3 separate regions of the Homo sapiens genome follow, and all the other regions are linked to region 3. Evidence: promoter capture Hi-C in human tissues and cell types (Jung and others, 2019). All regions are on one chromosome and are shown on one strand. The core of a region is centred on a gene start or on the middle of the fragment in contact, and the rest is flanking DNA. Distances in the headings are between cores, read along the strand shown. Region 1 overlaps ARHGAP39 (Rho GTPase activating protein 39). Region 2 overlaps ARHGAP39 (Rho GTPase activating protein 39). Region 3 holds the start of COMMD5 (COMM domain containing 5).

Evidence for each region. Contacts are between HindIII fragments. The study calls those that stand out against the background at their distance.
Region 1: a fragment that was not itself captured here is called in contact with the fragment with the promoter of COMMD5 in region 3 in 3 of the 25 tissues and cell types used here (dorsolateral prefrontal cortex, lymphoblastoid cells and spleen).
Region 2: a contact is called between a fragment that was not itself captured here and the fragment with the promoter of COMMD5 in region 3, in 2 of the 25 tissues and cell types used here (dorsolateral prefrontal cortex and lymphoblastoid cells).

The regions. Positions count from the first base shown.
Region 1 is chr8:144,559,904-144,563,723 of GRCh38, forward strand. All of the region lies in intron 3 of ARHGAP39 (Rho GTPase activating protein 39), which reads right to left. Among named protein-coding and RNA genes, the nearest start is that of C8orf82, 33 kb to the left of the region's middle. The HindIII fragment of the contact is 5,044 bases long and covers 1-3,820 here.
Region 2 is chr8:144,577,795-144,581,634 of GRCh38, forward strand. ARHGAP39 (Rho GTPase activating protein 39) reads right to left here. Exons shown (of 12, transcript NM_025251.3): 3 at 3,052-3,483. Among named protein-coding and RNA genes, the nearest start is that of C8orf82, 51 kb to the left of the region's middle. The HindIII fragment of the contact is 7,795 bases long and covers 1-3,840 here.
Region 3 is chr8:144,851,173-144,854,525 of GRCh38, forward strand. It overlaps COMMD5 (COMM domain containing 5), which reads right to left and starts at 1,876. Exons shown (of 2, transcript NM_014066.4): 1 at 1,667-1,876; 2 at 1-223. The coding sequence starts at 166. RefSeq lists enhancers at 1,091-1,939, 1,517-1,846, 2,397-2,496 and a silencer at 1,917-2,106. The HindIII fragment of the contact is 6,847 bases long and covers 1-3,353 here.

The DNA.
Region 1 (3,820 bases), core at 891-3,390, 290 kb before region 3:
ATCACCTGAGGTCAGACGTGGAAGTTTCCACTTGTGGCATCACGTTGACACTCAAAACGTTCCAGATCATGGAGCACTTTGAATTTTGTGTGCTTGGCCTGTGGTAGACAGCACTAATATCTATTACAAGTGTTTATTTTCTTTTATGTAATTATACATATCTTCTATGACTAATGTACATTGCTTCTCAAATAAAAAGGTCATTTTAAAAATGTTTTAAAATCAGTTGTATCAACAAATGGCAAACTTGCCGGGCACAGTGACTCACGCCTGTAATTCCAACACTTTGGGAGGCCAAGGTGAGTGGATCACTTGAGGTCAGGAGTTTGAGACCAGCCTGGCCAACATGGTGAAACCCCCGTCTCTACTAAAAATACAATAAGTAGCCGGGTGTGGTGGCGCGTGCCTATAATCCCAGCTACTTGGGAGGCTGAGGCAGGAGAATCGCTTGAACCCAAGAGGCAGAGGTTGCAGTGAGCTGGGATCTTGCCATTGCACTCCAGCCTGGGCAACAAAACGAGACTCCGTCTCAAAAAAACAAAACAAAATAAAAAAACAAATGGCAAACGTTAAAGTTGGCTGGTGGTCAATATCTTCAAACACATAATTACGGTACAGAACAAAAAGCTAGAAATATGGAATATGCCGAGATGGAAAACCATATAGGCAAAGACATCTATAAGATTGCTGTATCTGTATCTAACCCTCCTACCATTTCTGACTCGTCACCAAAAGATGACTGGGGTCCTGCAAGTGGGCCTTCAATGTTATGCTCTCGAGGACCAGCGGTGCGCGGGTTACTCTGTTACTGAGTTAGATGAATATCATGTTCCTGAGGCGGTGATGCTATGGCTGTGCTAAAGGAGCATGACGTCAACACTACTAGAGCAAGTACTCGTCACAACAGACTCAACTTACACAACTGTCAGAAACATTTTAAACAGAAACAGAAACTCTCAAGTGGAGTATTTCATCACGGCAGAATTACTTTACAAAAATAAAAATGACCCTTACACTAACGTATGTTCTAATGTGGCTCACTTGTTAGCCAAGCAAGGAAAACTGTTCACTGATGGGAAATTAATTACATTGTGTTGATTATGGCATCTAAAACTGTGTCGAGAGATGATAAACTTGCTTAAGACTATTAGCCTTTTGGCAAGAGCAGCTGCTTGAGGAGTTGAGGACAGTGAGAGCAACACAACAGCCCTAGGACCCCAGTGGTTTCCATTGCACCCCAGCGGTTTCCATCACACCCCAGTGGTTTCCATCGCACCCCAGCAGTTTCCATCGGACTCACCCCAGTGGTTTCCATCACACTCCAGTGGTTTCCATCACACTCCAGTGGTGTCCATCAGACCCCAGTGGTTTCCATCACACTCCAGTGGTTTCCATCACATTCCAGTGGTTTCCATCAGACCCCAGTGCTTTCCATCACATCCCAGTGGTTTCCATCGGGCCCCAGTGGTTTCCATCGGACTCACCCCAGTGGTGTCCATCACACTCCAGTGGTTTCCATCACACTCCAGTGGTGTCCATCACACTCCAGTGGTTTCCATCACACTCCAGTGGTTTCCATCACACTCCAGTGGTTTCCATCAGACTCCAGTGGTTTCCATCAGACCCCAGTGGTTTCCATCACACTCCAGTGGTTTCGATCGGACCCCAGTGGTTTCCATCGGACCCCAGTGGTTTCCATCGCGCTCCAGTGGTTTCCATCGGACCCCAGTGGTTTCCATCGCGCTCCAGTGGTTTCCATCGCGCTCCAGTGGTTTCCATCGCGCTCCAGTGGTTTCCATCACACTCCAGTGGTTTCCATCGGACTTAATCCAGTGGTTTCCATCGGACTTAATCCAGTGGTTTCCATCGGACTTACTCCAGTGGTTTCCATCGGACCCCAGTGCTTTCCATCACATCCCAGTGGTTTCCATCGGGCTCCAGTGGTTTCCATTGGACTCACCCCAGTGGTTTCCATCACACTCCAGTGGTTTCCATCGCACTCCAGTGGTTTCCATCACACTCCAGTGGTTTCCATCACACTCCAGTGGTTTCCATCGGACTCCAGTGGTTTCCATCGGACCCCAGTGGTTTCCATCACACTCCAGTGGTTTCCATCACACTCCAGTGGTTTCCATCGGACTTACTCCAGTGGTTTCCATCGGACTTACTCCAGTGGTTTCCATCGGACTTACTCCAGTGGTTTCCATCGGACTTACTCCAGTGGTTTCCATCGGACTTACTCCAGTGGTTTCCATCAGACCCCAGTGCTTTCCATCACATCCCAGTGGTTTCCATCGGGCTCCAGTGGTTTCCATTGGACTCACCCCAGTGGTTTCCATCACACTCCAGTGGTTTCCATCGTGCTCCAGTGGTTTCCATCGTGCTCCAGTGGTTTCCATCGGGCTCCAGTGGTTTCCATCACGCTCCAGTGGTTTCCATCACGCTCCAGTGGTTTCCATCGGACCCCAGTGGTTTCCATCGCGCTCCAGTGGTTTCCATCGCGCTCCAGTGGTTTCCATCGGACCCCAGTGGTTTCCATCGGACTCCAGTGGTTTCCATCGCACTCCAGTGGTTTCCATCGCACTCCAGTGGTTTCCATCGGACTCACTCCAGTGGTTTCCATCGGACTCCAGTGGTTTCCATCACACTCCAGTGGTTTCCATCACACTCCAGTGGTTTCCATTACACTCCAGTGGTTTCCATCGGACTCACTCCAGTGGTTTCCATCGGACCCCAGTGGTTACCATCGGACTCCAGTGGTTTCCATCGGACTCACTCCAGTGGTTTCCATCGGACTCCAGTGGTTTCCATCGGACTCACTCCAGTGGTTTCCATCGCACCCCAGTGGTTTCCATTGGACTCCAGTGGTTTCCATCGGACTCACTCCAGTGGTTTCCATCGGACTCCAGTGGTTTCCATCACACTCCAGTGGTTTCCATCGGACTCACTCCAGTGGTTTCCACAGACTAACTCCAGTGGTTTCCATCGGACTCCAGTGGTTTCCTTGGCTCTTGATGAGCTGACAGACGTTACTGGTACTGCTATGTTTGAAGGAGTCAATATTGAGCTTGAAGTGACCAAAGAATTAGCCTCTATCACTTGCTCTATGTGGAACAACTAGAACACACAGTATTTTCAAATAAGTTGTGAAAATACTAATTTTGTATGACCTGAAGTGGAATCTACTAAGATGAACTACAACTGATCATGCTAAGAATATATGTGGATCAGAAAAGGCTTACTTAGACAAACTTACAAAGCTTATGAAAACTGAAGATAATGTGAAAATATAAGCCTATGTTTATTGTGTTTTTCATTAGCAGCTACTTTGTGAAAAGTATTTGAATCTATTAGGAGTTACTGAAACAGTGGCATCAACACGAACTTCATGCACTCTCATGACTCAGCCATCATTAGTTCCATGAATTTTTGTCAGAAATCAATGATAAATATTCTCACTTTCCGACCACACAAAATTCAACAGCTTCGCAGTGGCAAAGTTTTATTGTCATTTTTTAGAAAACTCTGGGCCAAGACTAAAAGTCTCTGCATGAGAAAAACCTCCCTCAACCACTATTAAACACTGAAAAGGGCTTGGCACCCTAAAATTTTAGGGCTCAGCCCTAAAATCCCAATGCTTTAGGGGGCTGAGTTAGGAGGATCACTTGAGACGAGGAGTTCAAGACCAGCCTGGAAAGATAGTGAGACCTTATCTCTATAAAAAAAAAATAATAATAATAAAAGAAAATTAGCTGGGCACAGTGGCATATGCCTATAGTCCTAGCTGCTCTGGAGGAGAATCACTGGAGCCCAGGAGTTC
Region 2 (3,840 bases), core at 1,302-3,801, 270 kb before region 3:
TCTAGGAAGAAACTTTACCAGGGAGGTGAAAGGACTGTAAACTAGAAAATATAAAACACTGCTAAGAAAAATCAGACATAAGCAAATGAAAAGACATCCTCTGTTCATGGATTAGAAAATTAATATTGCTTGGATGAAATATCAGCTTACAGATCCAACACAATCCCCCACACAGATCCAAAATTCCAAAAGCTTTTTTTTTGTTGTTGTTAAAAGAAATGAAAAAGCCAATCCCCAAATTCTTGTGGAATTGCAAGGTGCTCCAAATAGCCAAAACAACCTTGAAAAATTAGAATAAAGCTGGAAGACTCACACTTTCCAGTTTCAAAACTTATTACAAAGCTACAGTGATCAAAACAATGTGGTACTGGGATATGGATCAATGCAAATCAATTGAGAGGCCAGAAATGAACCCAAATCTATGACAGGTCAATTTTTGTTTGTTTGTTTTTGAGACAAAGTCTTGCTCTGTCACCCAGGCTGGGGTACAGTGGTGCGATCTCGGCTCACTGCAACCTCCACCTCCTGGCTTCAAGTGATTCTCCTGCCTCAGCCACCCGAGTAGCTGGGATTACAGGTGTGAACAACCACTCCCAGCTAATTTTGGTACTTTTAGTAGAGACAGGGTTCTGCCACGTTGGACAAGCTGGTCTCAAACTCCTGGCCTCAAACTCCTGCCTTCCTTGGCCTTGAAAAGTGCTGGGATTACAGGCGTGTGCCACTTTTCTTGGCCAAAATTAAAAACTTTGTACTTTGGCCATGCACACTTTGGCTCATGTACTTTGGCTCATGTCTGTAATCCCAGTGCTTTGGTAGGCATAGGTGGGCATACTGCCTGGGCTCAGGAGTTGGAGACCAGCCTGGGCAACATAGTGAAACCCCAATCTCTACAAAAAAAATACAAAAATTAGCCTGGTGTGGTGGCACGTGCCTGCAGTCCCAGATACTTGGGGGTCTGAGGTGGGAGGTCACTGGGCCCGGGAGGTGAGGGCTGCAGTGAGATTGCACCACTGCACTCCAGCCCCAGAGACAAAGAGAGACCCTGTCTCAAAAACAAACAAACAAACAAACAAAACAAAAACAACAAAAACCTTTGTTTTTCAAATGATACCATCAAGAAAGTGAAAAAAGGGGCCAGGCGTGGTGGCTCATGCCTGTAATCCCAGCACTTTGGGAGGTGGGTGGATCACGAGGTCAGGAGATCAAGACCATCCTGGCTAACATGGTGAAACCCTGTTTCTACTAAAAACACAAAAAATTAGCTGGGCGTGGTGGCAGGTGCCTGTAGTCCCAGCTACTCGGGAGGCTGAGGCAGGAGAGTGGTGTGAACCCGGGAGGCGGAACTTGCAGTGAGCAGCAATCGTGCCACTGCACTCCAGCCTGGGCGACAGAGCGAGACTCTGTCTCAAAAAAAAAAAAAAAAAAAAAAAAGAAAGTGAAAAAAGGCTCAAAGTCATTAGTCATTAAGGAAATGCAAACCAAAACTACAATGAGACATTTCACAGTGGCTACAATAGCTAAAAGAAATCTAAAAAGGAAAGCAAGTAGTGTTGGCAAGGCCGTGGATAACTTTGAACCCTCATATTTGCTGGTGGGATGTGAAATGTAGGCCCTGGTCCTCTTTGTGCCCGCCTTCTGCACCGCTCGCTCACCCACGCCACGCCCGAGCCTCCGCTGCTCACCCTGCCCTGAATACCGACACCAACACCGTCTTCCCGGTGTGCTCCAGTGGCTCCTCCACACCTGATTTGCCCCACCTCCTGCCCACTCTGCAGCAGGCCCCATCCCTGGCCTCCCTTTCATCCTGCCAGACCGGGTCCACGGGATGAACCTGCTGCCCGCCTCCCTCTGTGCCTGCACCTCGGCACGGTGGGACGGAAGCCTGCTGTCCTCTGAGCTCTGTGGTTCACTCTGAATCCCTCTTCTGAAGCCTCAGATGAGCCCGGCAGTCCAACACGCTCCTTCCCACCTCTGCAGAAAGCCCCTGGGCCTCAGCTCCCCTGGCAACCTCAGCCAAGCACCGAAAATCTGGTACTGGGGGAGACCAATCCCCTGCCTTTCTCTCCCTGGGGTCCAGCCTCTCCTCCATCCTCTCCAGAGTGGCCTCCATCCGCCCCTGCAGTGGCCAGGCCTGTCTGCCCTGGGCCACAGCCTGGGCTCTGGGAAGCCCCAGCCTCCTGTCCCTGCCTCGGCTCTTCCCCACTGTCCTGCTGGCCTGCCGCCTGCCTCAGCCCTTCCCCACTGTCCTGCCCGCCTGCCTCGGCTCTTCCCCACCGTCCTCTCTGGACTCGCTTCCCACGGTGCACTCACCTCGAGGCCCTTGCGCTCTACCCTGACCTCTCCCTGTTTCTGAGGGCAGGGGTCTCCTGGGCTCCCACCAACACAGGCTGTGCTCCTTCGGAGCCACTGTGACTCCAGAGGACCACCTCCAAGCCTGCTCAGACCCCTCAGCTGTGTCCACACTGATCTACACCCTCCACCTGGGTCCCCCTAGGTCCACACACCCCACGCCCGCACGCAAATCCCCACATCTGCATCTCCCATCAGCAGAGAGAGCTGGGCGAGCCCCTCAGACACTGCTCTCAGGAACCACCACCTGCCAGGGGCTGGGCCAGTGAGGGGCAGGGTTGGAGGACCCAGAACCCTCTGAGGCTGAGCGCCAGGCTCTGCTGCCCAGAGAGACAAGAAAGTGCTCACTGGGGACAGCAGCGGTGGCTGCTACAGCCAAGGACGAGGCTCTGGCCACTCGCGGGGACACTGAGTCCCCTGGGTCCCCGCCCACCGCCCTCACCTGGCCCTGCCCACCATACCTGACCTACTCCTCACCTGGCCCCGCCCACCACCGTCACCAGTCCCGCTCTCACGTGGCCCCGCCCATTCCACTCACCTGGCCCCGCCCACCATACCCGACCTACTCCTAACCTGGCCCCGCCCACCACCTTCACCAGTCCCGCTCTCACCTGGCCCCGCCCACCACCCCCTACCTGCCTCACCTGGCCCCGCCCACTCCATTCACCTGGCCCCGCCCATAGCAGCTGCCCCCGCCCTCACCTGCCGCTGTCCTCCTTCACTGTCCCAAACGCCGCGGGCCGCCCGGCCCTCGCTGGCAACTCCTGCGCTTTCTCAGTGTCGGGCTCGGGCTCCAGGGAGGAGCTGGTGCTGCCCTCACGGCTGACGCTGCTGCCGCGCCCGGGGCTGCTCTCCGCCGAGGCGCGCGGGGACTCCGTGTTCTGCTTCAGCGTCTGCAGCTTGGCCAGCGGGATGATGTCGCAGCCCTGCGGCCGGTGCCACACCGTGCGCTGCGTGCTGGCATTGTAGTAGTAGAAGCGGGACGTGTTGGGGTCGAACAGCTCCCACCACTGGTTCTCGCTGGTGCGCTTGATGCGGACGCCGGCCGGCGGGTCCCACACGCACTCACCGGTGACCAGGTTGGCGTACATGCGCTCGCGGGTGCGCGGTTCGATGATCTCCACCCACTCCAACCTGGGGAGAGACAGGGTTAAGGCGGCTGGAGCCACGGCGGCCTGGGCCCGCGCCTCCCACCCCTGCAGACCCCGGCTCCAGCCCCAGCTGCGAAACCCAGAAATCCTGTCATAGAGGAAAGCAAACCCAAGCCCAGTCCGCCCCTGACTGCTGTGCTCCTGAGCACCCGCAACCGGGGAAGCCCCCGGAGCCGCCAGCGCCTCAGGGTGGTGCAGCCCTTTGGGGGGTCCTGGGCCCCACGTGGGGTAGGGACATACTGGCTGTGGTTGCAGGCTCCTGTCCTCACAGGCACCCAGGCCACAACCTCACTGCCCACTGCTCCGTCCTGCAGGATCGTGGCACAGGCCTGCGAGTCAT
Region 3 (3,353 bases), core at 626-3,125:
CCACAAACTTCAGCAACTTTCTGAACGTGCTCCTGTCTAGGTCCCCTAGTAGCCGGGCCATTGCTGCCACCTCTGGAGGAAGCTGGGCCCCCAAGAAACTCACTCGGCCACTGTGACTATCACCAGGATGATGCAGGTATGGAGTTGCAGCCCCCACAGCAGACATTGCTGCTGCTTCCTCTTTGATCAGCCAGCCCAGGAGGTCGGTCCCAGATGCAGATGCCTAGAGTGGGGTGGAGGAGAGAAGACCAGTGACTCTCACATCCTTTGGGCCAGCGAGTGAGGGTTGATATGGTCCCCATCATCAGCATGCTGACAGTGTGAACTACCAATGACAGTCAGTGCTGCGGAGATGGCCCTGGAAGCAGGTGGCAGAGGGGTCCATGTCAGTCCCAGGAGGAGCGGAGGCCTCCCAGAGGAAGTGACATCTAAGGCATGAAGGACAAGCAGGAATTGGCAGAGAAGTAGGGGGCAGGGAGGAGGACCAGGAAACAGCACAAGTTCTCCAAGTAAATTAATAGATGAAAGAATGAACTAGGGGAACGGTCCGGGGAACACAGGGACACTGCAGCTGGCGCCACAGACCACACTGAGACCATTTAACTATTCAATCTTGAATCCTTCACAACAGTGGGCAAGAAGAATTACCATTCTCACCTGACAGAGAGGGAGATAAGGCTCTAGGCCAGGTGCAGTGGCTCAAGCCTGAAATCTCAGCACTTTGTGAAGGTGAGGCCAGCGGATCGCTTGAGCCCAGGAGTTGGAGACCAACCTGGGCATCATAGCAAGACCCCGTTTCTACAAAAAATTTAAAAAACTAGCCAGGCGTGGTGGTGCACGTCTGTAGTCCCAGCTACTCAGAAGGCTGAGAGGACAGAGGATCCCTTGAGCCCAGGAAGTCGTGGCTGCAGTGAGACGAAATCGAGCCGCTGCACTCCAGCCTGGACAACAGAGATGCTGTGAGGAAGGAAGGAAGGAACGAACGAATGGAGGGAGGGGGGAGGGAGGGGAGGCAGGGAAGAAGAAAAGAAAAGTAAAAAGAAATCAAAGCTCTAAACACAGCTGCCAAAGTCAAGGACTGAAGCCTAGACCTGTCTATTCAGAAGTCCCAGCTGTTTCCACCACAGCCCCAACCCCCGGGCTGGAAGAGCTGAGCAACGGCTGGCAACAGAGGCAAGTGCGGCAACTAAAGAGGGTTCCGACGCACCTGAAGGAGCAGTGCAGCAGCACAAGCACCTGCTATGCCAGAGGAAACGCACGTGCCCACCTCAGCACACCAGGTACTGGAGCAGAGCTCAGCGGGGCACAGCTCCTGTCCTCGAGGCACTTGTCAGGCCACTCTGCACAGCGCTGGGGGAGCCCAGGAGCTCCCCACGGGCTTCACGGCGCCCCATTCTCCCTGGGAGTCAACGACCACCCACTGCCAACTCCTTCACCGTCCCGCCAGCACCAGGAGCTCCTTCCCACTCCAAAGAGCCATCCGGGAAGGCCTCCGAGCTGCCCGCTTCCGGTCGCGCGGCTTGGAAGGCCGGGTTCGCACCCTGACTCCGTACCCGCGGCTCTGATGGGGGCGCGGCGTCGCCCGTTCCGGGGCGCGGGGACCTTGGTGCACAGAGTCAAATTGGCACTCGGCCGTCGCCGCCCCCACGGTTCGGGGCCAACCTACCGGCGGGCGCTCCTCCGCGGAAAAGCCCCGCAGTATCCAGAGCTCTCCGAACACAGCGGCGAAGCAGCCTTTCCTAGGCCCACACCCCCAGCTCGGGAGGGAGACTCCATCCTACTCCACCCCACGCTCCCGCTGTCCGAGTCGCCCCCAGCACCTGGCGCCGGCAATCCCCGGCTGATGCAGCCAAAAGCGGGCCTGGTCCCCGGAAGCGCCCTGAGAGCCACTTCCGGGCCGCTCTAGGAAGGCAGCAATGACCGCCCCACTGTGGTCCGCTGGCCCGAGGGGCGGAGCCGAGGCCGCGCCAGGTCCCGCCCCCTCCCCGCCCGGGGGAATCGGGGGTCGCCGGCGGGGTCCCAGACCTCGTCTTAGACAGTTTTTTTTTTTTCTTTCCCCAAAGAAAAAGAAGGCGGTGTTGTGTTTCCGTTTCTGAGGTAGAAACTGCGGCCTGCGCCCGCGTCTCCCTCCCCGCCCGCGCAGAGTGAGGGTAAAGCGGGAGAACGCGTCCCGTGGTCTGGGGTCAGAATTCCAGTCACCTGAGGCTGAGGAGCTCGCTGGCTTTCGTCGGCGTCCGGGTGGGCGGCGGGGAAACCGCGAGACCTTGAGGATCAGCGCGGAGCGGAGCCGAGCGGGCGTCCCTGTCCCGTGTGGACGGTCTGCGCCTCCAGGGTTTTGAGAGCTGCCCCGTTTCCCCTCCTGTCGGGTGGCGTCCGGCGCGCGTGACTCGGTTCCGCTTTGGGCTGCTCTGTTGGGCCCTAGCGCAGGAGCTCGGTCCGAAACAATGGCCGAGCCATTTTATTTAACATGTACTTTACCATAGTTAAAAAATAATATGCCAAAATCATTGAATTGTACAAAATGGGTGAATTATATGGTATGTGAATTATAGCCCAATAAAACTTAAAAAAAAAAAAAAAACTCTGAAAAGGGAAACAACCTAATTAAATGGGCAGAAGATGTGAGTAGACATCAAGGAAGATACAAAGTGGGTAATGGGTACATGAAGCCTTCGGCATTGTTGGCTATTAGAGAAATGCGAATGGAAGCCACGGGGAGGTGCCATTTCATACCATTAGAAGGGTTATAATAAAAATGACAGGTTGGGTGCGGTGGCTCACGCCTGTAATCCCAGCACTTTGGGAGGCGGAGGTGGACAACCAGATCTCAGGAGAACTCTATCATGAGACCATAACTTAAGGGCATGGTACTAAACCATTCATGAAAAGCCACCCCCACGATCCAATCACTTCCCACCAGTCTCCACCTCCAGCATTGGGTATTACCTTTCAGCATGAGGTTTGGGCGGGGACACAGATGCAAACCACATCAGCCATACAATGGAATAGTGTTCAATAATAAATAGGAGTGGAGACTGGGTGCAGTGGCTCATGCCTACAATCCCAGTACTTTATGAGGACTAGGTGGGAGGACCACTTGAGGCTAGGAGTTCAAGACCAGCCTGGGCGACATATCAAGGCTTCATTTTTACAAAATTAAAAAAAAAAACAGGTGTGGTGGTGTGCACCTATAGCAGGGGTCCCCAACCCTCAGGCTGTGGACCGCTACAGGTCAGTGGCCTGTTAGGAACTGACCTCACAGCAGGAGGTGAGGGCAACCTATAGTCCCAGCTATTTGAGAGGCAGAGTGAGGACCACTTCAGTTCAGGAATTTGAGACCAGCCTGGGGAACA